Linked DNA regions of Homo sapiens: regions 1, 3, 4, 5 and 6 are each linked to region 2. The links are contacts of gene promoters, found by promoter capture Hi-C in blood cells and fetal thymus (Javierre and others, 2016). All regions are on one chromosome and are shown on one strand. The core of a region is centred on a gene start or on the middle of the fragment in contact, and the rest is flanking DNA. Distances in the headings are between cores, read along the strand shown. Region 1 holds the start of RNASE3 (ribonuclease A family member 3). Region 2 holds the start of TEP1 (telomerase associated protein 1). Region 3 has its middle 38 kb from the start of RNASE1. Region 4 overlaps LOC100507513 (a long non-coding RNA gene). Region 5 holds the start of EGILA (EGFR interacting lncRNA). Region 6 has its middle 18 kb from the start of RNASE1.

Evidence for each region. Contacts are between HindIII fragments. The CHiCAGO score rates a contact against its expected background, and 5 or more counts as called.
Region 1: the fragment with the promoter of RNASE3 here is called in contact with the fragment with the promoter of TEP1 in region 2 in 6 of 17 cell types (total B cells, monocytes, neutrophils and 3 more); the score reaches 12.3 in total B cells.
Region 3: a contact is called between a fragment that was not itself captured here and the fragment with the promoter of TEP1 in region 2, in 1 of 17 cell types (M2 macrophages). The highest score is 6.3, in M2 macrophages.
Region 4: a fragment that was not itself captured here is called in contact with the fragment with the promoter of TEP1 in region 2 in 11 of 17 cell types (naive B cells, erythroblasts, total B cells and 8 more); the score reaches 11.2 in naive B cells.
Region 5: a contact is called between a fragment that was not itself captured here and the fragment with the promoter of TEP1 in region 2, in 5 of 17 cell types (naive B cells, naive CD4 T cells, M2 macrophages and 2 more). The highest score is 7.7, in naive B cells.
Region 6: a contact is called between a fragment that was not itself captured here and the fragment with the promoter of TEP1 in region 2, in 1 of 17 cell types (naive B cells). The highest score is 5.4, in naive B cells.

The regions. Positions count from the first base shown.
Region 1 is chr14:20,888,933-20,893,020 of GRCh38, reverse strand. It overlaps RNASE3 (ribonuclease A family member 3), which reads right to left and starts at 1,636. Exons shown (of 2, transcript NM_002935.3): 1 at 1,570-1,636; 2 at 673-1,339. The coding sequence starts at 1,334. The coding sequence ends at 852. All of the region lies in intron 1 of LOC100507513 (a long non-coding RNA gene), which reads left to right. The HindIII fragment of the contact is 4,045 bases long and covers 1-1,670 here.
Region 2 is chr14:20,412,183-20,416,684 of GRCh38, reverse strand. TEP1 (telomerase associated protein 1) reads left to right here and starts at 3,184. Exons shown (of 55, transcript NM_007110.5): 1 at 3,184-3,280. It also overlaps the pseudogene RNA5SP382. RefSeq lists enhancers at 2,981-3,030, 3,531-3,600, 4,151-4,320, 3,430-4,346. The HindIII fragment of the contact is 9,686 bases long and covers 1-4,502 here.
Region 3 is chr14:20,838,756-20,843,143 of GRCh38, reverse strand. No RefSeq gene overlaps it. Among named protein-coding and RNA genes, the nearest start is that of RNASE1, 38 kb to the right of the region's middle. RefSeq lists an enhancer at 2,487-2,987. The HindIII fragment of the contact is 3,601 bases long and covers 357-3,957 here.
Region 4 is chr14:20,867,055-20,871,553 of GRCh38, reverse strand. It overlaps LOC100507513 (a long non-coding RNA gene), which reads left to right. Exons shown (of 4, transcript XR_110261.4): 4 at 1,098-1,319. Among named protein-coding and RNA genes, the nearest start is that of RNASE3, 22 kb to the left of the region's middle. The HindIII fragment of the contact is 5,154 bases long and covers 1-4,438 here.
Region 5 is chr14:20,704,829-20,708,946 of GRCh38, reverse strand. It overlaps EGILA (EGFR interacting lncRNA), which reads left to right and starts at 2,006. Exons shown (of 4, transcript NR_174964.1): 1 at 2,006-2,200. The HindIII fragment of the contact is 860 bases long and covers 1,566-2,425 here.
Region 6 is chr14:20,818,511-20,822,747 of GRCh38, reverse strand. No RefSeq gene overlaps it. Among named protein-coding and RNA genes, the nearest start is that of RNASE1, 18 kb to the right of the region's middle. RefSeq lists enhancers at 724-1,018, 1,964-2,258 and a cis regulatory region at 1,829-2,412. The HindIII fragment of the contact is 3,836 bases long and covers 481-4,237 here.

The DNA.
Region 1 (4,088 bases), core at 387-2,886, 480 kb before region 2:
GCTGTCGGAACAATTTATCTTATTGCACATTTGACTCAAACCCTGGTTCCACCTCTATTACGATTGCTAATAGCTGGAGACTTGATGTGCCCATTTAAAAGAAATATCCCTGAGGCTAAACTTTTCTTTATCTTGGTTTCACCTTATTTATAGCATTCTTGACTTTTTCTACTTTCTTCTTTTCTATTTTCTATCATAACGTTCAATTCTATCAAAATTTATCATTCATAAATCATAATGAAGCACGTGCATTTTCAGCTGATTCACTGCAGCTCTTTTTTTCTTGGGATAGAAATCATGTCAATAAAAACCATAGTCGGACCATAAAGCATCAAATGGGACCTCAATATCAAATTGGGCTCAATTCTGGAATACAACTAAAACAAGTGGAGATCTATACACAAGTTATAGGTTGGTGTTGGGGGAGGAGTCAGTGGATGGAAAATTGCTTAGAGGAGATATTAAGGCTAGGGAGACCAATGCTAAGTTGACTCAATTGGATTTTTTTTTAAGGCAGGCCTGGAATCAGGTATCACATGAAGGATGATGGGGGAATTAAGGAATTTGGTCAGATATTGAGGGGGAGAGATTCATGATAAACCCAAATCTCTAGAGCAGATTGTCACTAAATGACAGCAGAGCGGCCGAGGAAGACACACAGACACTTCCAGATGAATTTGCAAAGCAGTTTATTGCAGGGTTCACAAGGGACTTCAGCTCAGGAAAGCTGAAGGGGTATGGAGACTGATGAGGACAGTTGCTGATACCCAGAGTACATGGAGGGATGGGATCTTGGCTATGATTGAGGAGCTTGGCAGATGAGTGATGATGAGGACTGCTGATACAGGAGCTTAGATGGTGGTATCCAGGTGAACTGGAACCACAGGATACCGTGGAGAATCCCGTGGATCTCTGTTGTCACATGCAACTACATAGAACCTCCTTCCTGGTCTGTCTGCATACGTGCAGTTTGAAATATTCTGTGCACCTGGATTTATGAGGTCACAGTGGAGTAAAGGCACCCGGAATCTACTCCGATGACAATTGTTGAGAGTTCTGTTATGAGGGCAGCGTATACTTTGGTTACCACAAACATTAACTACATTAGCAAAAGTTGTACGAAGAAAAGTATTTTGGTTTTTGCAACGCCATCGATAATTGTTAATTGCCCGCATTGCAATGGTGCATCGAGGGGGGTTCAGACTGATGTGCTGGATGGCAAACCACTGAGCCCTCGTAAACTGTGGGGGTCTGGCATGGAGTGAGCCCTCCACACCCATAAGCCCCAACAGAAGAAGCAGACAAATTTGGGAAGTGAACAGTTTTGGAACCATGTTTCCTGTAAGAAAAGAAGAGAAGTAACTACTCCCCGATCCGGTCTCGGTTATGACACACTCTATAGTGTCTCAACCCACAGGCCCCTCTGCTGCCACTCTGGGGTCGCATTTCCTTTTCTTCCTGTCCCCAAAGTGTGCCACATCTCCTAAGCACTAACTTCAGCTCACCTCTCCCTCAGGTGCTGCCCTGTCGCTGCCCCTCCTGTCCCAGCTCTGGGGATTGTTGACTTACCCAGTCTCTGAGCTGTGGCTCCTGTGAGAACTGATCCAGCTGGTTGTTCTGGGGTTCAGGGGCAGCTGGTCTCCCCTACTTGGAACTGTTTAAATAAAGCTTCCCTTGGTGGGTCTGGCCATGCAGAAACCCACAGATTGACACATGGTCCACTTGTGCAATCATCCTTTTTATTTGATGACTTGGCTGAGCAACGGATACCCAAGGACAGCCCTGCTGCTCTTTCTGCTATACGGACTCTAATTCCAAGTCATCCTGTGTTAGACAGAGTTTTGCCGGTGGGATCTGGACTCTGGGTGAAAACTATACGCTGCCGGCAGAATGACCACAGATTTTATAACTGTCCTCTGGCAGGCCCCTAAATGACTAAATGACACGAAGGCAGGCATAGTAGTTAGGAGAAATAGAGCCACAGAGGGCTGTTTGCCCAGGAGAAACCCAGCTTCCCTTCCATTTTTAGTAATATCCTTGGTTCTCTCTCACATAAATGCTCTCCATCTCATCCACCACTCTTGCTGGAAACTTGAGCTATTAATTTCTTGGGGCACAAGATTCTGTAGATAATTAAAACAATCTGCTCCATACAATTGAGGAATTTTTTTCTTTACTCCTCTTGCATTGGATCCACTTTCTCTTAAGTCTTGCCCTGATTATTGATTCCACTTTGTGTAAAGTTACATAACCTAAAAACACACCGAGGACAGTTGTAAAATCTGGCAGAGGATGAATGAACATTTGGTGTCATGAAAGATTCCAACCTAGCACTCGGTATTCCTGTGATCTTTTCAGCCTATGGTATTTTCTACAAAACAGTGTGTTCTGGGGTTGTCATTCATCTTCCTGGTAAGTTTCATTTTGTGATATTAACAAGAATATGGTTCTGTATTTACAAATGAACATTTAAGGACAGAGCACTGTATTCCTGAAAGTATAGAGGTCAAGTGTACAGTTTGATACACAAAGCATACATTTATTCTTGGCCCTCAGAGAAACACAGGAAAGTACTTGTAGACATATAATTGTATTACAGTGTGATAGAGGTAATAGCATTTGTGTGAACATGGTGTCATAGGGACACTGCTGGTGAAGGAAATCACTTGGCTTGAGAAATAAGGAAAACTTCAAAAAAAAGTTTATTTCAGCAGGTCCTAAAGGATAAGCAGGGGATTTTCAGGGGATTTAGAGAAGAGATGAGCATTCTGGGCACAGGGGATGATGTGGGGAAATTGTACAGAGGTGAGAAGTGAATTGCAAAGGTAAGGCCTGGGTACTAACAGATGTTAAATCTGGTCTAGCTTTGAGATTAGAAAATGGAAAGTAGACCCTTAAATGATATAATATACCTTCCAACAGTTAATCTGCCTAATTTTTACTACCGTCCAATTTTCCTGTCATTTAGAAATGCAATAATTTTATCACTGGGGTCCTTAGGTAAATGTGGACACAATGGTGACCTGGTGAGGACTCAATGCGCAGCTAATATTGCTCTGCCTTGAAGTCCTGTTCTGGCCGACATTCATTAGCAGCTTTATCATGAGGCAAGTTTATTTTTTCATGTATATTGTGTGGAGATCATTTTTGTAGGTGATGAGAATGTAAAGGTGAATGATACGTAGAGTATCCCCTCTGTGATGCTGACAGCCACACTGGCTAGAAACATTTGCACTTAAGTGTCTATAGTATGAGGCAAAAGACATAGACTGCAGCCCCAGGGCAGGTACTTGGCTAAACAGTGCTTCTTTTCAGCATACACAGTGCTATTTATGATGTTTGGTTTGGAAGATAAAGTTTGACATTGGAATAGTTCACTAAAAGTTTTCATTACTGTCTTATCTTTAAAAATCACATGATGGTGGTTGGTGCACCATTGGTGTTGTATCAATTAGAGCTGAGTAACAGCTGCGTCTGTGGAAGGGGCTCTAGCTCAGGGCTGTTCTCTGACTCCACTCTCCCTCCTGACTTTTATCCTATCTGTTCAGTGATGACACCTGCCTGGCTCCTGAAGACATCTGTGCTTATGACATATCAGACTTATTGAAGTGTCTTAAGCAGACCATAACCTGCCCAATTTGCAACCATATTCATCCTTTAAAATTGTGGAGTTTTTTGTTTTTTGTTTTTTTTTGAGACGGAGTCTTGCTCTTGTCACCCAGGCTGGACTGCAGTGGCGTGATCTCACTGCAACCTCCACCTCCGCCTCCCAAGTTCAAGTGATTCTCCTGCCTCAGCCTCCTGAGTAGCTGGGATTACAGGCGCTCGACACAATGCCCGCCTAATTTTTGTATTTTTAGTAGAGACGGGGTTTCACCATGTTGGCCAGGCTGGTCTCAAACTCCTGACCTCAGGTAATGCGCCCACCTCGGCCTTCCAAAGTGATGGGATTACAAGTATGAGCCACTGCTCCCAGCCATAAAAATTGCATTCAGAACATGCTCATAAGGTTTTTCTGATTGTCCCTTGTGTAGATTTCCTGCGTACATTTCCAACTACCTTCATTTGCCAGCAGAAGTAGTACAAAT
Region 2 (4,502 bases), core at 1,935-4,434:
CCCTTTTATAAGGCTGCAAACTCCATTCATAAGGGCTCTGCTCTCACGACTTAATCCCTCCTAAAGACCCCAACCCTTAATATTATCACATCGCAGATTGAGTTTCAACATGAATTTTGGGGGACATATTCAGACCATAGCACCTAGGAAACTTCAAAAACTACTGATGCCTGGGTCCTACTCTGGGTGATTGCGATTTAATTGGTCTGGGGTGTGGCCTGGACTTTGGAATTTTTAAAAGATCTCCAGGTAGTTCCAGTGTACAAGCCTTGCTGGCCTTGAATCTCTTTGCTGCTTCAGGAAACCAGAAAGTAAAACTAGATCCTCAAAGCCAATCAGGAAGCCATCACCAATTGCCTTCCCTCCTGTATTGCCAGTCTTCTCAGGTCTGATATTTATGGGAATATGATGGAAGGGCTTGCATATGCTGTTCTTTCACTGGTGGGGCAGGTGTTTCCCACAGAGAGTCACAGACTACGAGGTCTTGAGGTTGGGATTATTATCTAAGGCATATTCTATGGGGAAGAGGCCTTATAAAGCTGGCCTTCAGAAGAAAGGCCCTGTGTGGACTCCTTCAATCCCTCCCCTCACTTCCTTCTCCTCAATATGCTCCCACTGTAGTCACCTCACGTAACCCTTTCTTTCAGGTTTCCTAGCTCTTGTGTTCCCTCACCAAACTCCTCTCTTTCTCCTCTAAACAGACCACTAATGAAGGTTTTCGATGTGAGTGGTACTGCCCTCTAGGGGGTGTTTTTGGCTTTCACAATAATTAGGATGATTTTACACATTTAAATGGGTAGGGCCCAGGATAGCTCAACATTCAGGAACTGTTTAGGACACTACCACACAATGAGTGACATTTCCGCATCTTTAACTTTGAATAACTTGCCAGTCATTCATGTAGCTGAAAACTTGTTTTAATTAGGATCTAACTTAATTTTTTTATTTTTTTTTTGAGTCGGAGTTTTGCTCTTGTCACCCAGGCTGGAGTGCAGTGGTGTGGTCTCGGCTCCCTGCAACCTCCACCTCCTGGGTTCAAGCCATTCTCCTGCCTCAGTCTCCCAAGTAGCTGGGATTACAGGCGGCCACCACCATGCCCGGCTAATTTTTGTATTTTTGGTGGAGACAAGGTTTCACCATGTTGGCCAGGCTGGTCTCAAACTCCTGACCTCAGGTAATCTGCCCACCTTGGCCTCCCAAAGTGCTGGGATTACAGGCGTGAGCCACCGTGCCTGACCATAATTTAATTTTAAATATAAACACAAGGCATTTTATGCGTAGTTTTAATACACACTGAACTTTCCAGGGATGCAACTACCATGAAAATCATGGGATGATCATACCTTGTTTTGTTTGAAAATCTGCCAAAAGCTATTTAGTATTCTGGAAAATCATACCACATCAGTAATTCTGTTCATGGTATTTGAATCGCCATTATAATGCCTGTATCATTCTGCATTTGTAGCTGTTACATTCCAGGTGATTTTATATACAGATGCATATATCTGAGTACCACATTGTGTCTTCTTGAATGTTATACACAAACATTTACATATCTAAACATATAGTATTTAATTATAAGTCATATTCTTTCTAGTATTCCTTTTATCTCCCATCCAAGTACTAACCAAGCCCAACCCTGCTCAGCTTCCAAGATCAGAGGAGATCGGGCGCGTTCGGGGTGGTATGGCCGTAGACTCCTTTATATCTCTTTAAGAGATTTTACTAATTTTTTGGCCAGGCATGGTGGCTTATGCCTGTAATCCAAGCACTTTGGGAGGCCAAGGTAGGAGGACTATTTGAGCCCTGGAGGTAGAGAGCCTGGGCAACATAGCAAAACCCTGTCTCTACTTTTTGTCTTTAAATTTTGGTTTAAAATTGTGCGTGGGGGTAAGTTACATTCTTTACGAATTATGTTTCAGAAAAATAAAAAGAGCTTTAAAATATTTGTTATAAAAAGGAAATGTTTTAGTTCAGGTTGCTATAACAAATTACCGTAGACCGGGTGGCTTAAACAACAAATATTATTTCTCACAGTTCTAGAGAATGGAAGTCCAAGATCAGATTGCCAGCATGGTCTGCCTCTGAAGATGAGGGTCTTCCTTGGGATTGCAGATGGCTGTTTTCTTGTATCCTCATATCGTGGAAAAAGAGCTAGCTAGCTCTTCCGTCTCTCCTTATGAGGCCACCAATCCCATTTATGAGTATTCTAAACTCCATGACCTAATGACCTCCCAGAGATCCCACCCTAAATACCATCGCATTGGGATTAGGGTTTCAATATATAAATTTTGGGGAGACACAAACATAAAGACCATTGCAGGGAGTGTTGGGACTGGTGGCAATAGAGGTTTCTAAGGAAGGAAAGGGGTACTGGCTCAGTTAATAGAGGACAGAATGCCCTCAATTCTGAGCGGAAGCTCAGCTGTTACCTGAGACTCAAGGGTACCTCTCTAAGGAAAGCAATGATATTTTCCAGAAGACAGCTAATCTGCTTTATATAAAGGCAGAAAGCATATTTCTCCTGCTACTATGTTTGGTCCTCTCTTTATGAAGCTAGGATTATTAACCTAAGGGTCACTTGTCTCTTTCCTAAGCCTGGTTCCATCTTCCTGGAAAGGGTTCAGCATTAATCATTCAGGATGGCTCCAGATAGATTCTGTGTGATCCACGGATCTCTCTTCTGATCAACAGGAGGGGAGGCACTTGCTCTCAGTTCAGCGAACTTTGATTGACTGATGTCTACACTTGGTTACAGGCGGTTGCTTTCCGCTTTCCGTCTCCTTTTAAGGAGTTCCTCAAAGGAACTTTAGGATGAATTGAGTCTGACCGTCTTTGATATTAGGAAGGAGAGGTGTACAGCTAGGCAGCGAGCATGCTAAAATCTTTTCCAGGAAACGGTGTTTGAAGAGTTAATGGGAGAAAAAAAGACGAAAATTAGCCAGAGGAGACGAATTTGGTAGAGGGGGAAGCCCTAGGGACAGGAGAAAATAGGACCAGAAAGGGAAAAAAAATAGAAACAATAACAAACTAAACTCGGGCCCCAGAAAAGGCGGCAGGGGTCCTGGGCATTCGCGTCGCAGCCCTGGCATGTCGTCTTGCCCGGCCCTCGGCTCGCTGCCCTTCCAGCAGCTGCTGCGCCCCGCCCGGGCCCGAGAGTCTCCGCCCGCACCGTCTCTTCTCAGATCCGCATCCGGCTCCTCCCCCGGCTGCCACCCTTCCCACCGGCAGAATCCAGAGCGAAGTTTCTGCTTCCTGCTGCGGGAATCGGACGCCCCAGGTCAGGCACCCAGGGTTTCCAGCCCCAGTCTAAGGTAGGGTCCGAGCGCAGGCAGAACTTGCCCTGGCCCTGGGTCTAGGGCGCTGGGCTCTGAGGCTGAGAGCTGGGTGGGAAGTGCCTGGCGGGGCCGGTTAGGAACCACCCGAGACTCAGCTAGGGGTGCATCCACCCTGCTCCTCCCGGCGGCTCCGGGAAGGGGAGGGAGTGTATACTGCGTGAAAGGGGAGGTGAGAAAGGAGGAGGAGAAGGCTGAAGGAGAGGGAGGGACAGGAAGAGAGACCACGTAAGAATCATCCCCTCTTACTTCCTTGCCCTGTGTGCCCATCGAAAGGGGACAGTGGCTGTCACCAACAAATGGTAGTATGAGAACCGTTTGTGATAATAGAAACCCAGACTGTGCTTAAATGTGCTAGACTACCATACAGCCACTTGAAGAGTGAGGTGGAGGCCGGGCGCGGTGGTTCACGCCTGTAATCCCAGCACTTTGGGAGGCGGAGGTTGGGGATCACCTGAGGTCAGGAGTTTGAGACCAGCCTGACCAACATGGTGAAAACCCTCTCTACTGAAAATACAAAAAAATTAGCCGGGCATGGTGGTGGGCGCCTGTAATCCCAGTTACTCGGAAGGCTAAGGCAGGAGAATCGCTTGAACTCGGCAGGCAGAGATTGCAGTGAGCTGAACAACAGAGCCAGACTCCGCCTCAAAAAAAAAAAAAAAAAAAAAAGGAAAGAGTGAGGTGGGTATTAATGTGTTAACAGGGCAAGGTCTCTGAGATATACTAAGTGCAGAATAGCATCTAACTTATGATCCTGTTTGTGTAAAGCAAAAGCAAAAGCAGTGGTGATGGTGAAGGCATGTATTTGCATATGCATAGAAACTGTGAAACTGTTAGTATAAAACTGTGAGCAATGTTTACTTCCAGAGAAGGGAACTAGAGATGGAAGTGGGGACGGAACTTTAACTTTCCATTTGTGGTTCAGCCGAATCTCCTTTCAAAAACTCCAGGGTGCAAAACAATAAAATGAGCAAAATAGTGAGACTGTCCTTTTAAGGATAGGACAGTCTCACTATGTTGCTCAAATAAACTGTCCTTATTTTTCTGTTTATTTTTGGCTTGAGATCTCTTTTAAAAAAAATCTGAGTCAATTCTGAGTTTCCCCACTCCTTTCCTTGGGGGCTTATATAGGGCAACGACATGAGCAAAGTGTATTGGGCACAGAAG
Region 3 (4,388 bases), core at 908-3,407, 430 kb before region 2:
CATTTCTCAGGACTTCTGCACTTCTTCTGCTGTTGGACATTCCATTAGTAACAAAGGAAGATCCTGCAAGTCGCTTTATTGTCCTCTTTGCTATAACCTGGGATTCAAATGTCAACACTTTTGGGTATCCGTGAACATTTACGGACAAAGACTTGAGACTCAGAAAATAGGATACAATCATAAAACTTTTGATGTTAAACAGGAATTGATATTTCAAAAATTATTATTTCTTATGTCTTGTACTTGATATATGAAAATAAAAGCTCAGTCTATATTTTAGTTTGTCTAGGTTTGAATAGCGAATATATACTCCTTTCTAGCCTGAACTTAAACAAGTTAGTGAACTTCTCCAAGCTTGCTCAAGTGTAAAGCAGACATAATACTAGCATCTCTCTCTTACTGTTACTGGGAGTGTTCAAAAAAATTAAATTGCTACACAGGACAATGTAATCCTGTGTTCTATTTGACTTCCTCCTTTCTCTCATTGCCCTAAACCAATCAATCACCAAGTTCTGTAGATTTTTCTCTCTTCCATATCTTTAACTTCCACTGCTTTTCATTCTCACGGCTTATTTAGGGCCATCCACATTTCTCCTAGATCGTTTACTGTAATTGCCTCTTTGATAATCTCTCTGTGCCCAGGCTGGTCCCCACTTTAATCCATTCTCTACTTTACTGCCGGAGTGCTCTTTTTAAATAATAAGTCTGACACCCTATTTAAATGTCTTTATTCCTCAGGATTAAATTCCAGTTCACCCCTCTCCTCGGTCTGGTCCTTCCTTGCTCCCTTCTCCAGCCCCTGTAGACTTCTACTTCAGCCACGCAAGCAATCCAGGGCTTTCAGGGCCCACTGAGCCAGGTCCTCCTCGTTTACAGGCCATTGACGTGCTACTGGATTTGTCAGGAAAGTTCTTTCCCTCAACATTACATAACTCCTACTCATCTTTGGGTATGCACTCAGCTGTGACTTACCATAGGAAAAATTTCCTAAACCTGTCAGAGTGGGGTAAAGTGCTCCTTTGGGATCTTTAGCACCAGGAGTCTTCTCTTCTCCCCTCCCTTTCCTTCCTTCCTTCCTTTCCTTTCCTTTTCTTTCTTTTTTTTTTTTTTTTCAGAGTTTTGCTCTTGTTGCACAGGCTGGAGTGCAATGGCGTGATCTTGGCTCACTGCAACCTCTGCCTCCCGGGTTCAAGCAATTCTCATGCCTCAGCCTCCCGAGTAACTGGGATTATAGGCATGTGCCACCACACCCGGCTAATTTTGTGTTTTTAGTAGAGACAGGGTTTTTCCATGTTGGTCAGGCTGGTCTTGAACTCCCGACCTCAGGTGATCCGCCTGCCTTAGCCCCGCGAAGTGCTGGGATTACAGGTGTGAGCCACCGAGCCTGGCTTAGCTCTAGGAGTCTTTCACGTAACATTATAATTTCCTGTTTATTTGTTTATATTCCTCAACAGACTGCAAAATCACTGAAGGTAGGAACTGTGTCTCACTCACTCTTGTATCCCCAGTTCCTAACACAACCTCAACACTGGGGAAGCCCTCAATTAATGTTGGGTAAGTAAAGGTACTTATGACAAACTATTAGTTAGCATCCAAGTCCTGTCCTGTACTTATGCAACTGATTTTGTTTCAAGGGCACAAAATTTATACTTGTGAAATTTCTTGTTACTGGATATAATCCACTGCTTCAGACTGGTAAGAACTTTGGATCTTGATTCCATCATCCATGTTATTTGCTCTCCCTGACTATCATGTCATCTATTATTGTGATGAGATTTTGCATCTTCATCCAAGTCACCTGAAAATATGATGAATAAGATAGGCCTGTGGAGACAGGTCTGTGTCACATCATCACATGATCTGGTTTAACCAGTTAGGAAGGTAGTCATTGCATTGAGAGACTTTATCAAGTGCTTTGCAGAAGTAAAGATGCAAAATATTCTCCACATTTCCTAATTCTACCTAAGGCAGGAGATTAGATTAGTCTAACATGATTTCCATGTGAATCTGTGCTGTTATTTATTATCATGTTCACTACAAATCCAAGCAGTAAATCATTATTTTTAATACACTTGCCTGGAATGTTTCCTGGAATTAGTGTATTTTTTCTGGTTCCACCTACTTCTCATTTGTTTCTACTTCCTCTGGCCCTTTAACAGGCCAGAGCACCCAGGTATCATATCCAATCCTGTCTTTATCTTAGGGGATCTCTCAAGAATATCCCATTCATGTGCTTTTGTCCCAGTCATTCTTGTGCTCATCCTCATTCTCTGGTTTTGAATATTCTGCAACATACTTGTGAAGTGGCGTCATTTGTCTGGGGTAAATACCCGAGGTTCATCGTCTCCGTCTCGCATCAAGCAAATTGAGAATTCAGACAAAAGAAGTGGGTTTAGGGCCAGGCGCGGTGGCTCATGCCTGTAATCCCAGCACTTTGGGAGGCTGAGGCGGGCGGATCACCTGAGGTCGGGAGTTTGAGACCAGCCTGACCAACATGGTGAAACCCTGTCTCTACTAAAAATACAAAATTAGCCAGGCATGGTGGCGCATGCCCGCAATCCCAGCCTCTCAGGAAGCTGAGGCAGGAGAATCGCTTGAACCCGGGAGGCAGAGGTTGCAGTGAGCCGAGATCGCGCCATTGCACTGCAGCCTGGGTAACTGAATAAGACTGTCTAAACAGCAACAACAACAACAAAACAAACAAACAAAAAACCAAAGCCACCTCAAGAATTACTCATTCCTTGGGTATCTCCCATGTATATAGGAAATAAACAAGTAAATAAATTTAAGTTTGTTTTTCTCTTGTTGATCTGTCTTTGGTTTCAGGGCTCCTCTCCAACTAAGAACTCATAAGATTTCAGTAAAAAAAAAAAAAGTTTCCCCTTCACCACACTGCCTAATTTTAACCTATACATTTTTAAAAACCTTTGTTACATAAATAAAATGTGTGTGAATCAGATGAGGTATGGCAAGGATAGGCAGTAATAAAACATGAAGGCCGGGCGCGGTGGCTCACGCCTGTAATCCCAGCACTTTGGGAGGCTGAGGCGGGCGGATCACGAGGTCAGGAGACCGAGACCATCCTGGCTAACACGGTGAAACCCCGTCTCTACTAAAAATACAAAAAATTAGCCGGGCGTGGTGGCGGGCGCCTGTAGTCCCAGCTACACAGGAGGCTGAGGCAGGAGAATGGCGTGAACCCGGGAGGCGGAGCTTGCAGTGAGCCCAGATCGCGCCACTGCAACAGAGCGTTGACTGGGCAACAGAGCGAGACTCCATCTCAAAAAATAAAAATAAAAATGAAAAATAAAACATGAAAACAAGGAACAAAAGAGGTAGAATTGGCTGTGGGTTCATTGAATGCTGTACCTTCACCTGAATTGCCTGGGGCCAAAAAGCATTTCAACTATTCAGTTATCTCCTTTCCCTTTAATTCTACGCTTACCAAGCAACCTTCTAATTAAAATCTTAGATTGCACTGGTCATGCTGACATCTGTATTTCAGGAAGTGTGACAGTTATCCTTTACATATTAAAAAATATCATTCTAGGTTATATCTGAGTAATCTATGAGTTTCGTTAAGCCCCCCCTTTTTTTTTTTTCTGAAAACAACGTCACAACTTGAGCCAGCAAACCTAAGCACCATGATATGTGATGAATAATTCACCAGGTAAATGCTATATTGTGAATATTATCACACTAAGTCAGAAGGCATTTTGTGTTGCTATCCTTATTTTGTCTGCTTTCAAACATTAACAATTTCCAAATAAAATGTTATTTTTATAACATAGGTCACATTAGTTTTTTTTGTGTGTGTCTTTATCCTCCTTTTCTTCATAACACAATCGTCTAATTGATATATAACTACTTCAAATATAGAACTATTTTCAAAAAGATAATCATATATGGACCTCTGTGTCTGGTCATTTCTATACTCTTGCTATAACTCTAGAAGCTTAAAAATGATCTATGTTTTTTCTCCTACTTAATTACTTACAGAAAATGCTACAGTAGTTTCTTTCTTTTCAGATTCCCTAACCACCATTTTCTCTCATATCTTATTGATTTGGCCAGGACTTCCGAAACAATATCAAATAATAATAAATATTACTGGTATCATTTGCTGATTCTAATTTTAGGAGGATACGTCTAGGTAGATAAATGTTGGTAAGTCCTAGATACTCTTTCTGACTTTTTCGTGGTCAGCTTGGCTAATTGATTACAAAACCCTAAGGGTAACTGCCTGACTGACTAGATTTGGCTCGTCAAATGAAACCCACTAGTCATGCGGATCTAAATACCCTTAGTATAGTAAGGAAACATTTTTTCTATTCCTTTAAAAGATCAACATGCATAGCCGGGTGTGGTGGCTCACGCCTATAATCCCA
Region 4 (4,499 bases), core at 612-3,111, 460 kb before region 2:
TAGCACCCATCCACTCCTTCCTTTACTATGTATTCTAATCTCCCTTTACCCTTAGGTCTTAGTTGCTTATTCTTATTTACCCTCTCACCAGTTCTGAGGGTTAAGCCCTTGGTAATCATATTTTTCTCAGGCTGAGGTGGCTACACACTTACATTCACAGTTAAAATGGAGCATGGGAGTAACAGAAAGCACCCAAGTAGATTACTTGGGTTCTACATAAATTCTTTTCTGCCTCTATTGGGTAAAAGCAGCCCTACCTCCCTCCTGCTAATCAAGGTTACTTAGCCTTGACAGTATGGCAACTCCTCTTCACGTCTGCTGGTCCCTAGACACGAGAAATCCAAAGTGTCCTGGGAAAAGCTGTAGCTTGCAGTTCAATGAGACCTTTCTGTGTAAGTTGGCAAGGGTGCATCTTCTTTGGGGACCTGGACCTTTGACCCTGCAGAGCCTAGAGTTACAGAAATGAAAGCACAACATATCTGAGTGGGTCAATCAGAGAGATGGTAAGTGGAGCTACTCCTGCTTCTACTTCTCGGTTCCTGGATCCGTGTATTCTTCCTATTGGGAACACAGTACCCTTTACAGGCCTCTGATTTAATAAATACACTGCATCCTGAAGAATGATACCCCATACTTTCATAATGTTACCTCTTAGCTGCTGCTTCAGCTGTGTCTTTGGAAAGTCAGTTTCTCTTCTTTCCTCCCTCCCTCCTTTCTTTCTTCTACCCTCCTTTCTTCTTTTCTCTCTTTTCCGTTCCTTCCTTTCCTCATTTCTCTTTCTCTTTCTTCCTCCCTCCCTCCCTTCCTTTCTTTCCTTGAGCTGAAATGGCTTGCACCTTCCTTTTCCCACATAAACACCAATGGACTCTTCCCATTAGTCCTCTAGTTTCTTCCAGAGGTAGGTGAAATTATTGAAGAGACTTCAGCAGAAATTAGGGAAGATCTTCTGAACTGTGATTAAATGGAGTGTGGTCGTTTACCTAATTATCCTTGGTTATCACCTTCTGTGATTGTGATTTTACTTATTAAGCAGCAGAGCCATCTGGCGAAGACCTGCATTACTTTTTAATCTTATGCTTGCCTTTTGTCTTTCCCAGATTTGATAAATGGTTGGTCCTTATGATCCACTGATGCAGACTACTTGGGAGGTCCCAATGTCCTGGTGCCCAAAGGCAAGATCATTTTTCCCCCTGCAGTGTTTCTGTCTATCATGATGATGTGAGTGGGCTCTTATTGGGGGTGCCTAATGCTGCCATAAAGAAAGAGTTTTCTTGGCTTGGTGCAGTGGCTCACGCCTGTAATCCCAACACTTTGGGAGGCTGAGGCAGGCGGATCACGAGGTCAAGAGATCAAGACCAACCTGGCCAACATGGTGAAATCCTGTCTCTACTAAAAATATAAAAATTAGCTGGGCGTGGTGGCGTGCACCTGTTGTCCCAGCTACTCGGGAGGCTGAGACAGGAGAATTGCTTGAACCCGGGAAGTGGAGGTTGCAGTGAGCCGAGACTGCGCCACTGCACTCCAGCCTGGCGACAGAGCAAGACTCCATCTCAAAGAAAAAAAAAAGAAAAGGTTTTATCTTCTGAATTAAGCTGTATCCCTCTGAGCTAGTCAGGGAAATAGGCAATCTTTTTTTCTATGGCTCATAGATACTGGTATCACTGGTTATCACTTGTGATAAGTAAGCAACATCCTTCCTTCATAGATTTATAGCTCAGTGTTTGGCATATGCCCTATAATTATTATCACAAGCAAGGTGTGCAGAGGCAAAGTTTTCTAGGATACAAGCACCTGTCTGTTTTGTTCACCTCTCCCTATATGGCACTTAGCATAGTGCTTGTCATATCAAAGGCACTCAGAAATGTTAATTAAGTAAATATTAGTGATGGAAGAATGTCTTTCTATTGTCTTCACATATGAATAAAAAGGGGGCCAGGGGCAGTGGTTCATGCCTGTAATCCCAGCACTTTGAGAGGGTGAGGTGAGTGGATCACTTAAGTCCAGGAATTTGGGACCAGTCTGGGCAACATGGTGAAACCCCATCTCTACAAAAAATACAAAAATTAGCCGGGCGTAGTGGCACACGCCTGTAGTCCCGACTACTCAGGAGGGTGAGGTGGGAGGATCGCTTGAGCCTAGGAGGTGGAGGTCACAGTGAGCCGAGGTTGGGCTGCTGCACTCCAGCCTGGGAGACAGAGCCAGACCCTGTCTCAAAAAAAAAAAAAGTTAACTAGATAAAACATCCTTTGTTTCTGGATGTCCAAAGAGTTGTTTTTATTGTTTCACTGAAATGTCATGGATTAATATAGTCTGTATTCCTGTATTAGTAGCCTGCTATTACTACACAAAAACATTCGAATGCCTTCTCTTTTGCTGTATTTTAGACATTTTTCAAAAGCCTAGGTTTCTGTGTTGCTTTTGCTTATGCTGAGACTCGGTGATCTCCACCTGTTTCTAAAACCAGCTCCCTATCTCCTGCTGAAGAATGTTCCTTTTGTTCTTTGACTTTTGATTCTGTGTCTTGTGTTTTAAGGTTCAGTTTAGGAATCTCAGTATACTTTAGGTTGATTCCCTGGAATTCAAGTGAGATGCATTTTTTTCTTTTTTTGAGAAATTAATTAACAATTTATGCTAATGTGTGGATGTTTAAGTTCCTGGCATTTGACTGAGCTTTGTAATGTGTACTTTCTACACTGTGGAAAGAAGGAGTTCTAAAAATATATATATAGCCAGGTGCAGTGGCTCACGCCTCTAATCCCAGCACTTTGGGAGGCCGAGGCGGGTGGATCATTTGAGGTCAAGGGTTTGAGACCAGCCTGGCCAACATGGTGAAACCCCGTCTGTACTAAAAATACAAAAATAAGCCAGGCATGGTGGCAGGTGCCTGTAATCCCAGCTACTCGGGAGGCTGAGGCAGGAGAATCGCTTGAACCCAGGAGGTGGATGTTGCAGTGACCTGAGACTGTGCCATTGCACTCCAGCCTGGGCAACAAGAGTAAAACTCCATCTCAAAAAGAAAAAATATATATATTCTCAGAAAGAAAATATATCTATCTATCTATATAGATAGATAGATAGATTTCAAAATATGAATTTTTTTTTCCTATCAAGATAGAAGATCCTGTTAATAAATTTGGAGAACAATTAGATATTCAACAAGTAGACATTGTGCATTTCTACTTAATGGACATCTGTATTGCCAGAATGCCATTGAACATGATCCTGCTTTTAAAGTAGTGGTTGTCCAAGAAAGGAGTACGAGGCTGAGAAGATTCTCTTAGAGTGACAGAATTGCTAGATTGAACAAGTTGATTCAGAATAGGTTGCTATACGTCTCTCTTACGGCTTTCAAGGATTCAGCAGGCCATTCTGGACAAGATCTACAAGAAAACATAGGTGTTTCATTTTGAGTGATAACCAAAGGTTAAACCCAAAACCCTTAGGTTCAGGATTTCAAAGTATAGGCCATACTAAGAGAAAATATTTATGACACATATACACTTGATTAATGCAGCATTTACATTTGTTTCTGTCAATAAGCTAGCAGGGAGCAAGCTAATGTGTAGGGTAATAGTGACAGACATACACCAACTTAAGAGGAACAATCAGTGTCTTACTGTCAGGCTGCCACTGATGCCCAGCTAGTGCATCATTGATCCTCACCTACAAGATTTTCTTCCTCATTTCTGCATAAGGAGGCTAAAGTTACCTCAAAAGCTGGTGGTCGTGGTCTGCAGAAAACTCAGCTTAGCATTCCCCTTTAGAGATATGGGGATACTGATGCTCAATGTTCAATGACAGCACAGCTGCCTGGACTTTATGATAAAACTCTCACTAGAGATTGAAGTTTATAGGAGCCTTAGCCTAGATTCTCATTAGTTCTTCCACAGACTTTCTCTCAAAAACAAGCAACATGTTTATATTACCCACTTTTCACATATAAGCATGTTTTTCCCTTTTAAATAAATTCTCTCAAAAATTACATTTAAAACCACATTTTACATAAACATAGTTATGAAATTTCTTAATAACAACATATTTGTAATTTGACCAAGTGGAGTGAAAACCCTCTATCAAAACAAATGCACTTTAGTGGGGAACGAGGCATCCTTTATAAATACATAAACGAATCATACACAGCACAATATCTGTGCAATATTGGTTAGCTTCCTTCTAATTCATCTCCACATGTCTTAGAACTATAAGGAATCTCCCATCATAACTCAATCTTCCCCACAACTGAGGCCCACAGCCTGAGCTGGCCAGATTCCTTTGAGGGAACTGAGTTTCCATCTCTCACTCCCTGTCATCAGCCTACTAGAAACCGAGGTGAAGGAGTGTGAATGACTTGGAGCAGTTCCTCACTGACAGAAGAGCACAAGGAATTTTCTCTCTGCAACATCTCTGCAGCAGGGGGCACCACTTCCCAAATCAAGCTTTGCTGGCGTTTTTGAAATCTGGAGGAAGGTGAAAAATGACTATTTTCATAAAGTAGGTGA
Region 5 (4,118 bases), core at 746-3,245, 290 kb before region 2:
TTCCCCCAAGCAGGCTTAGAAAGCATCATCTGGCATATTGAGGCACTTACAAATTATAGCAAGTGCTGAAAGACACATTTAAGGGCATCTCATTAGTAACCTCTGAAATGACTATGATGGGAAAAGTAGTCTTGCAAAACCACATGGCCCTTGATGTACTCACAGCTGCTGGGAGGGACCTTGACCCATAATTGAAACTAAATGTTTTGTGTATATCCTAGGTAATTTGCGAAACATCTCCTTAGCCCTTCAAGACGTGCACAGACAAATCAATGCTATGTCTGACCCCACAATGTTCCTAAACCAGTGGTTATCTTCATGGTTTGGATACGGACCTACTTGGTGGAAAAAACTGCTAGTAGTTCCAGCTATGATTATAGGAATAGGTATATTCTCTATGGGTTATACTCTTGTTGCACCATATGTGTGATATTGCAAGATTGTGTTTTCCTTAATTGGAAAGGCTCCTAACTCCCAGGTCAATGATGCTGTAAAAAATCACTTCCATAAGTCAAGGAATGCATGAATACTTCCAACTCCAGGTAAATAAATTCCATTCTTCAGCTCCCTAGTGATGCCCTCATTCAGCAGGAAGTAGCTAGAAAGAAATTGACACCTGATCTCCCATAGAAATGAAACAGGAATTGGCAGTGGGGAGTTTGTAGCTGGAATAATCAGCCTGCTTCAATAATGAATAGCCTCACCCTTTGATTTATTCAGTATCTAGCCGTATCCTTGCTTAAGAAACCCAGGGGCTAATCTTGAAATAAACCGGGCATGAATTTGAGATTGTGGAATCCTACATTCTCAGAAAAATCACTGAGGGGGGTTAATCCATAAGCTAGTTGCAGTCATGGTGATGCCAGCCAGACCTCCAGGTGATCCGTTACTGAAGATAGCCATCAGAGTAAGACATGCAAACCTGCACCCTGCACCACTCCTGCTCATAGTTTCCATGCCTCCTACTTCTTAAAATCCCTTTAGCTAGCCTAAAATTTTGAAATAGTCTTTGAGGCGCTAGTCCACCATCTCCTCAGGTTGCTAGCTCTTGAATAAACCTGCTTTTCCTGCACCAACTCTTGTCTTGCAAGTCTTGCTTTTGAGCAGTGAGCAGTGATCAGCTGACCCTTAGTTTGGTTACACTATCACTCAGGAAATTCCAAGCATTTTAGAAGGTCTGTGGCAGGAACCAGGAACTAAGTTCAAATTTATTTTTTATTATACCACAGGTCCCAACTCCCATGACTACCTGGATGGTGACAAAGACGAATTATCTCTTCATCCTTCTTTCTCACTCTAAATATACACAGACATGCTATTAGGAGGGAAAACTTTCCCTCTACCAACTTTGGTTCAGTGGGTGGGAGCCTGTGAATTAACTATAGACAGGTTAGCAGGGGGAAAGAAAACAAGTTGTATTCATAACTTGTGGAAGCATTCAGATGAAGAGGCTTGATGAAGAGCTAGAGACAGAAGTTTAGTTATCAACTCATAGGGGAAAAGAAGGAGGGAGAAATGACTTCTATAGGAAAACAAATGACTTTTGGGAAAGACAAATAGAAGCTTTGGATAAAGTTTTACACAATTTTCTTGGAATATCTCCTGTCTGGGTGAAGTAATCCTCACACGGTTAACAAGAATCCTGGACAAAAATATAATTATGAGTAAGTGTTAATCAGGCTACACTTTGACCCACTTCCTTGTAACCAAAACTCACGAACACTAGCTACTGATAATTTGCATTCTCATTGTTCCCATAGATAAGATCTTTGACATTAGAATCATAAGGCTTTTGTTTAAGAATTGTTTATGCAGATCCTGAATTCCGGCAGAACAGCTGACACCACCAACTTTAAAGAGCCCAACTGATGAACTGATCAGCATGAGAATACTGTTTTTTCATCTCTCTGTCCCATGACTTCACTCTGCATTCTTCAACCAATTAGTGATCTCTTATTTCCACCTACTCCAAATCCTTAAAAACAACAGCCTCAAACTCTTTGAGGAAATGGATTTGAGGTTTCCTTCCATCTTTTGGTTCAGCAGCCCTGCAATTAAACCTCTTTCTCTGCTGCAACCCAGTGTCTTGGCATATTGACATGCTGTGCACATCAGGCAAAAGACCTATTACCATTACATGAGGACCCCTCCGGAGGGAGATAATGGTGGGGGCATTTCTGGGAGGCTCTGCTTTAGTCAGGTGAGAGAAGTTCAGGTAAGATTTCTTTCTGTATCTGCTGTAATTCAAATGTTTTCAGTTTTGTCAGTTTTGCCCTTAAACATGTGCACACACACACACACACACACACACACACACACTCACACTTCCCTTCTTAAGCAGCTAGCATCTTCATATATCTCTGCTCCTGTCATGTGCGTCCATGTGAAGAGACCACCAAACAGGCTTTGTGTGAGCTATAAAGCTTTTTAATCACCTGGGTGCAGGCAGACTGAGTCCGAAAAAGGAGTCAGCAAAGGGAGATGGGGTGGGGCAGTTTTATAAGATTTGGGTAGGTAGTGGAAAATTACAGTCAAAGTGGGTTATTCTCTTGCAGGCAGGGGCAGGGGTTACAAGGTGCTCAGTGGGGAGGTTCTGAGACTCATTGTCTAGGAGAAGGAATGTCACAAGGTTAATTGATCAGTTAAGGTGGGGCAGGAACAAATCACAATGGTGGAATGTCATCAGTTAAGGCAGGAACTGGCTATTTTCACTTCTTTTGTGGTTCTTCAGTTGCTTCAGGCCATCTGGATGTATACTTGCAGGCTTGGGCTCAGAGGTCTGACATTTCCTGTCTTCTTATATTAATAAGAAAAACAAAACAAAATAGTGGTGAGGTGTTGGAGCGGCAAAAATTTTGGGGGGTGGTATGGAGAGATAATGGGCAATGTTTCTCAGGGCTGCTTCAAGTGGGATTAGGGGCAGCATGGGAACCTAGGGTGGGAGAGATTAAACTGAAGAAAGATTTGGGCATCAAGGGTGATATTGTGGGGTTGTTAGAAGGAGCATTTGTCATACAGAATGATTGATGATGGCCTGAATGCAGTTTTGTATGAATTGAGAAACTGATCAGAAGACACAAGGTCTAAATAAGAGAAGGAGAAAAGCATGTATTAAAGGACTAAAAATTGGGAGGGCTCAGGACATCCAATTAGAGAGTGCCTAAGGGGGTTCAGCATAATTATTTGCTTGGTTGGTGAGTTTTTGGGCGCTATCCTTGAGTTTTTTTTATGTTGTCATATACTAGGCCAGAGTGATTTTGGTAGAAACAACACTCTTCATTTAAAAATATACAGAGTCCCCCTTTTTCAGCAGTGAGTAAGTCAAGGGCATATTCCTGTCTTCTTATATTAATAATAAGAAAAACAAAACAAAATAGTAGTGAAGTGTTGGTGTCATGAGGGGAACAGGAAGCTCTTGGGTCCCATTTGCAAGTTGATTTTTGGGGGTAAGGAAAACTAGTGTGCATGTGCCTGTCTAATTAACAGGTAGACACATGTAGGGGAGGAGCCACAGGGGAAGAAGAGACCTTGTGTAAGGCGAAACTGGAAATGTAAAGTGAAAAGATGAGAAAGAGAAAAACTGGCCATGAGGGACAGAAGTTGAAACGCCAGCTGCTTGTTTAGCTACCTTATTAGCATAAGCATTGCCCTGAGTGATGGGATCTGATGCCTTTTGTTGGCCTTTACAGTGAATGGCCTCAGTTTTCTTGGAAGTAGAGCAGCTTTAAGAAGAGGTTTTATTAAGGAGGCATTAATGATGGAGGACCCTTGTGTAGTGAGGAAACTTCTTTCTGCCCATATAACAGCATGGTGGTGAAGGATGTGGAAGGCATACCTGGAATTGGTATAGATATTGACACGTAGTTCCTTTGCAAGAATGAGGGCTCGAGTTAAGGCAATGATTTCAGCTTGTTGAGAGGTAGCAGAAGGGGGCAGGCCTGTAGCCTCAATGATAGATGTGGAAGATACTATAGCATAGCCTGCCTTTGCCAGTGATTGGCGATTGGACCTGGAAGAACTACCATCAATAAACCAAGTGTGGTCTGGGTAGGGAACAGGAAAGAGGAAAATATGGGGAAAAGGGGAGAATGCCACGTGGATTAGAGGGATACAGTCAT
Region 6 (4,237 bases), core at 1,149-3,648, 410 kb before region 2:
TCTTTTGTGGCACCAAAACTTTATTTATAACTAGGGGTTTCACCATGTTGGCCAGGCTGGTCTCAAACTCCTGACCTCAAGTGTTCTGCCCGCCTTGGCCTCCCAAAGTGCCGGGATTACACACGTAAGCCACTGTACCTGGCTGGCATTGGTAGTTTTTAAGAGCTTCCAAAAAGATTTATCGAAAAGTCTCATCAAGTTATAAGTAGCAGAGCTGGGGAAAAAACACACTTTTTTTCCCTGACCTTTTATATTACCTGAGCTATATTTATTACACCACTTCTCTGTTTTTGAAAATTCACCTTTCTACAGTAGCAGTCATTAATTGTTGCCTTTTTATTGGAGAGCTAGGCTTCTCATTTATTCTTTTTCAGATGATATTGTACACATCATGACACCTTTCTGAAACCACCTTTGCAAAATTATGACCGAGACAGTGAAACAGATCTAACCTAACTAACTCTATCTTGCTTTTAAGCTTTAAGCTGTCCTTGTTCATTCCCGGGGTAGGCTGAACTAACTTTGGGAGAAACTTGCTTTATGGTTTGTAGTTTAAAACAAAGACAATAACAACCCTTTCCTAAAGCAGACCTCCTTCTTGCCTGGGGACTAGATTCACTTTGTAGGACTAACATTAGCCACAATATTAGAAATTATGGTTTAGGAGTCATGCAGCTGGAGGCTACAAGATTCTGACCCTCCCTAAACTCCTCCTAAGATCAGTGCTTGAGATATTTTGCTGACCCTGCACTTGATGGATCAGCTGGCACCACCCAGATTGATAAACTGGCTCATCTGATCTTGTGTCCCCCACCCAGGAACTGACTCAGTGCAAGAGGACAGCTTCAGTTCCCTATGGTCTTGTTTCCTAACTGACCAGTCAGCACTCCTGGCTCACTGGCTTCCCCCCACCCACCAAGTTGTCAGTAAAAACTCTGCTTCCCTGAATGCTTGGGGAGACTGATTTGAGTAATAATAAAACTCCGGTCTCCCACACAGCCGGCTCTGTGTGAATTACTCTTCCTCCATTGCAATTCCCCTGTCTTGATAAACTGGCTCTGTCTAGGCTGTGGGCAAGGTGAAACCACTGGGTAGTTACATTCCTCCTTCATGAAAAACACATTCCATTTCTTCCACAACCACCTTTTGATTCTGCACCATGTCTAATATTTTTTGTATAGTATTTTCTTTGTTTCTAGTCAGTTAATCTTCTGTGACTCCGTAGCCTTCTACAATGAGACATTAATTTACTTGACATGTATTAATTGGAGACCAACTGTATACATGGCACATGATCAGGAGATATGTGTGAATAAAACACCCTTTCTGTTCTTGAAAACAGTGTAATTTGGGAGACTGAGAAGAAAGAATTCCCACTGAATGTGAGACATGGTATAATAAAGTGTGAAATGCTGTGGAATCACAGATAAAAGAGCAGGCAAGGGCACGCTATTGTTTGACACAGAAGAAAAAATGGTCTCTTGCTCTCCTATTAGAAGTGAAATACCTTTTTTTTTTTTGAGACAGAGTCTTGCTCTTGTTGCCCAGGCTGGAGTGCAACAGCACGATCTCAGCTCACTGCAACCTCCACCTCCCTGTTTCAAGCGATTCTCCTGCCTCAGCCTCCCTGGACCTGGGATTACAGGCTCCCGCCACCATGCCTGGCTAATTTTTGTATTTTTAGTAGAGACGGGGTTTTGCCATATTGGCCGGGCTGGTCTCAAACTCCTGACCTCGTGATCTGCCCGCCTCGGCCTCTCAAAGTGCTGGTATTACAGGCGTGAGCCACCTCGCTGAAATACCACTTTTATAGAAGGCAATTGACATTATCTAAAGCCTTATCAAAAGTCCATGTTCTCTAAACACATCTAGGAATATATGCCAAGGAAGTAATTGGGCAAGGTGTAGTGGATGCGGTGGTGCATGTCCCAGTTCCCCCACTTCAGGAACACGGCACTCATTCCCTCCACTGACTAGTGATGGTGATGAACAGCTAGCTCTCAGCTGAGTCTCTTTCTCTCTGGGAATAGCCCTTTGTGTTGACAGAGGAGAAAAGAAAAAACCCAGTCAGGCAGGCAGTTAGGGTGGGTCCTTGGTTTAATCCTTTCAAACAAAACAACAGCCTGCAGGCACAGATACAGGAATTTGCATAGGGGCTTGCCTAAGACACGCCCACAAACATGAGAAGGGCGACCCAGGTGACTTGCTTAGACATGCCTGCAATGGAAAATTCCGTCCCCTGACACACGTGCAATAAGGGGCCCGCACGCACATTAGGAAGACACGGTGGGGCTACGACACATTCACCCCTTATGCAAAGGAGACTCCCAGCCCTCATGGGTTTTCTATAAAAGCCTTTGCATTCAACTGTAGAAACAACAGTCCTCTTCCAGGTCCCCTCTCTGCAGCGGAGAGCTTTCTTCTTTCGCTTATTAAACTTTCACTCCAACCTCACCCTTGGTGTCCAGGATCCTTAACTTTCTTGGTCATGAGACAAAGAACTTAGGATGATGCCTTGGGCAGCGAGAGACTACTACATTGTGGTGCATTGGCAAGAGTGTAACAGTGGCAGAGAACCATCCTGCTAAAAGTGAAGCCTCCTCCCCAAGGGCAGTCAACATCTAATAAATGGTAACGGGATATAAAGGCTTGGTCCCTTTACCTTAATTCAGAACAACTCTGAAGGTCAATCTAGCTCTAAAGAAAGCTAGAATACCTGTGGGATTGGCCAAGGCCTTTGTTGTGACTGCATCAAAATCCTACCTCTTCTGCCCGATAATGCTTCCTTCACTCCCTCTGCAGATATTGCCCCAAGATTGCTGTGCAGTAAACTTTTTTTTTTTTTTTTTTTTTTTTTGAGACGGAGTCTCGCTCTGTCGCCTAGGCTGGAGTGCAGTGGAGCGATCTCGGCTCACTGCAAGCTCCACCTCTCGGGTTCACGCCATTCTCCCTCCTGTCTCAGCCTCCTGAGTAGCTGGGACTACAGCCACCCGCCACCACGCCCGGCTAATTTTTTTGTATTTTTAGTAGAGATGGGGTTTCACCGTGTTAGCCAGGATGGTCTCCATCTCCTGACCTGGTGATCCGCCCGCCTCAGCCTCCCAAAGTGCTGGGATCACCGGCATGAGCCACCGCGCCCGGCCTGCAGTAAACATCTTAAATGCACATCTTAATCTCAGTGTTTATTTTTGTAGAGAATCTGCCCTATGACACAAGAGTATAAATGCAGACATAGAAGAGTTTTTATTGAAGGCAGTGTACATGTAACAAGTTGTAAATCTTATAAATGTCCCCAAATACAGAATTTGTTTAATGAATTATGATATATCCATAACATGAAATACTATAGAGCCATTTAGAGTAATATAGATATATGTTGACTTGGAATATATAGGATGGAATTTTTTGTGTGTGTGTGTGACAAGGTCTTACTCTCTCGCCCAGGCTGGAATGCAGTGGTTTGATCATGGCTCACTGCAGCTTCACCCTTTTGGGTTCCAGCCATCCTCCCACCTCAGCCTCCTGAGTAGTTGGGACCACTAATTTAATTTTTTTTTTTTTTTAAGTAGAGACAAGGTCTCACTATACTGCGCAGGCAGGTCTTGAGTAGCTGGGACCACAGGTGTGAGCCACCATGCCCGGCTAATTTTTTAAATTTTTAGTAGGGACGAGGTCTCCCTCTATTGGCCAGGCTGGTCTCGAACTCCTGGGCTCCAGCAATCCACTTGCTTCCGTCTCCCAAAATGTTGGGATTACCGGCGTGAGCCACCAAGCCCAGCCTAGGATATGTTTTTAAATAAACTTAAAAAAATTGAAATATACACACAGAAAAAACATAATTACATAGCTCAATAAGTTAGCTCAAAGCAAACAGATCTGTGTTCACCACTATCCAGGTTAAGAAATTACATATTACTAGGACCCCAGATGCATTTGAAGAGAAAAAGCAGAATCTGAAGCAGTGTTACAGTACTTCATATTTTATAAAATCTTACACATAGACAAAAGTGTGGAGAATTACACCCTAAAATGTTAATAATGTTGTAGGTGATGAAAATACAAGTAGTATATTTCTATTAATTTAGCAGGAATTAAAAAAGATACAAAAGATACAAAATTATCTTTTTCAATATTCCATATCTAGGTCACTTGGTAACTTAGAGAAATATATACTGCAACTTCCTAATGAATATTTATTAACTGCTGACTTGTTCCCAAAATTCATTAATTAGCACCC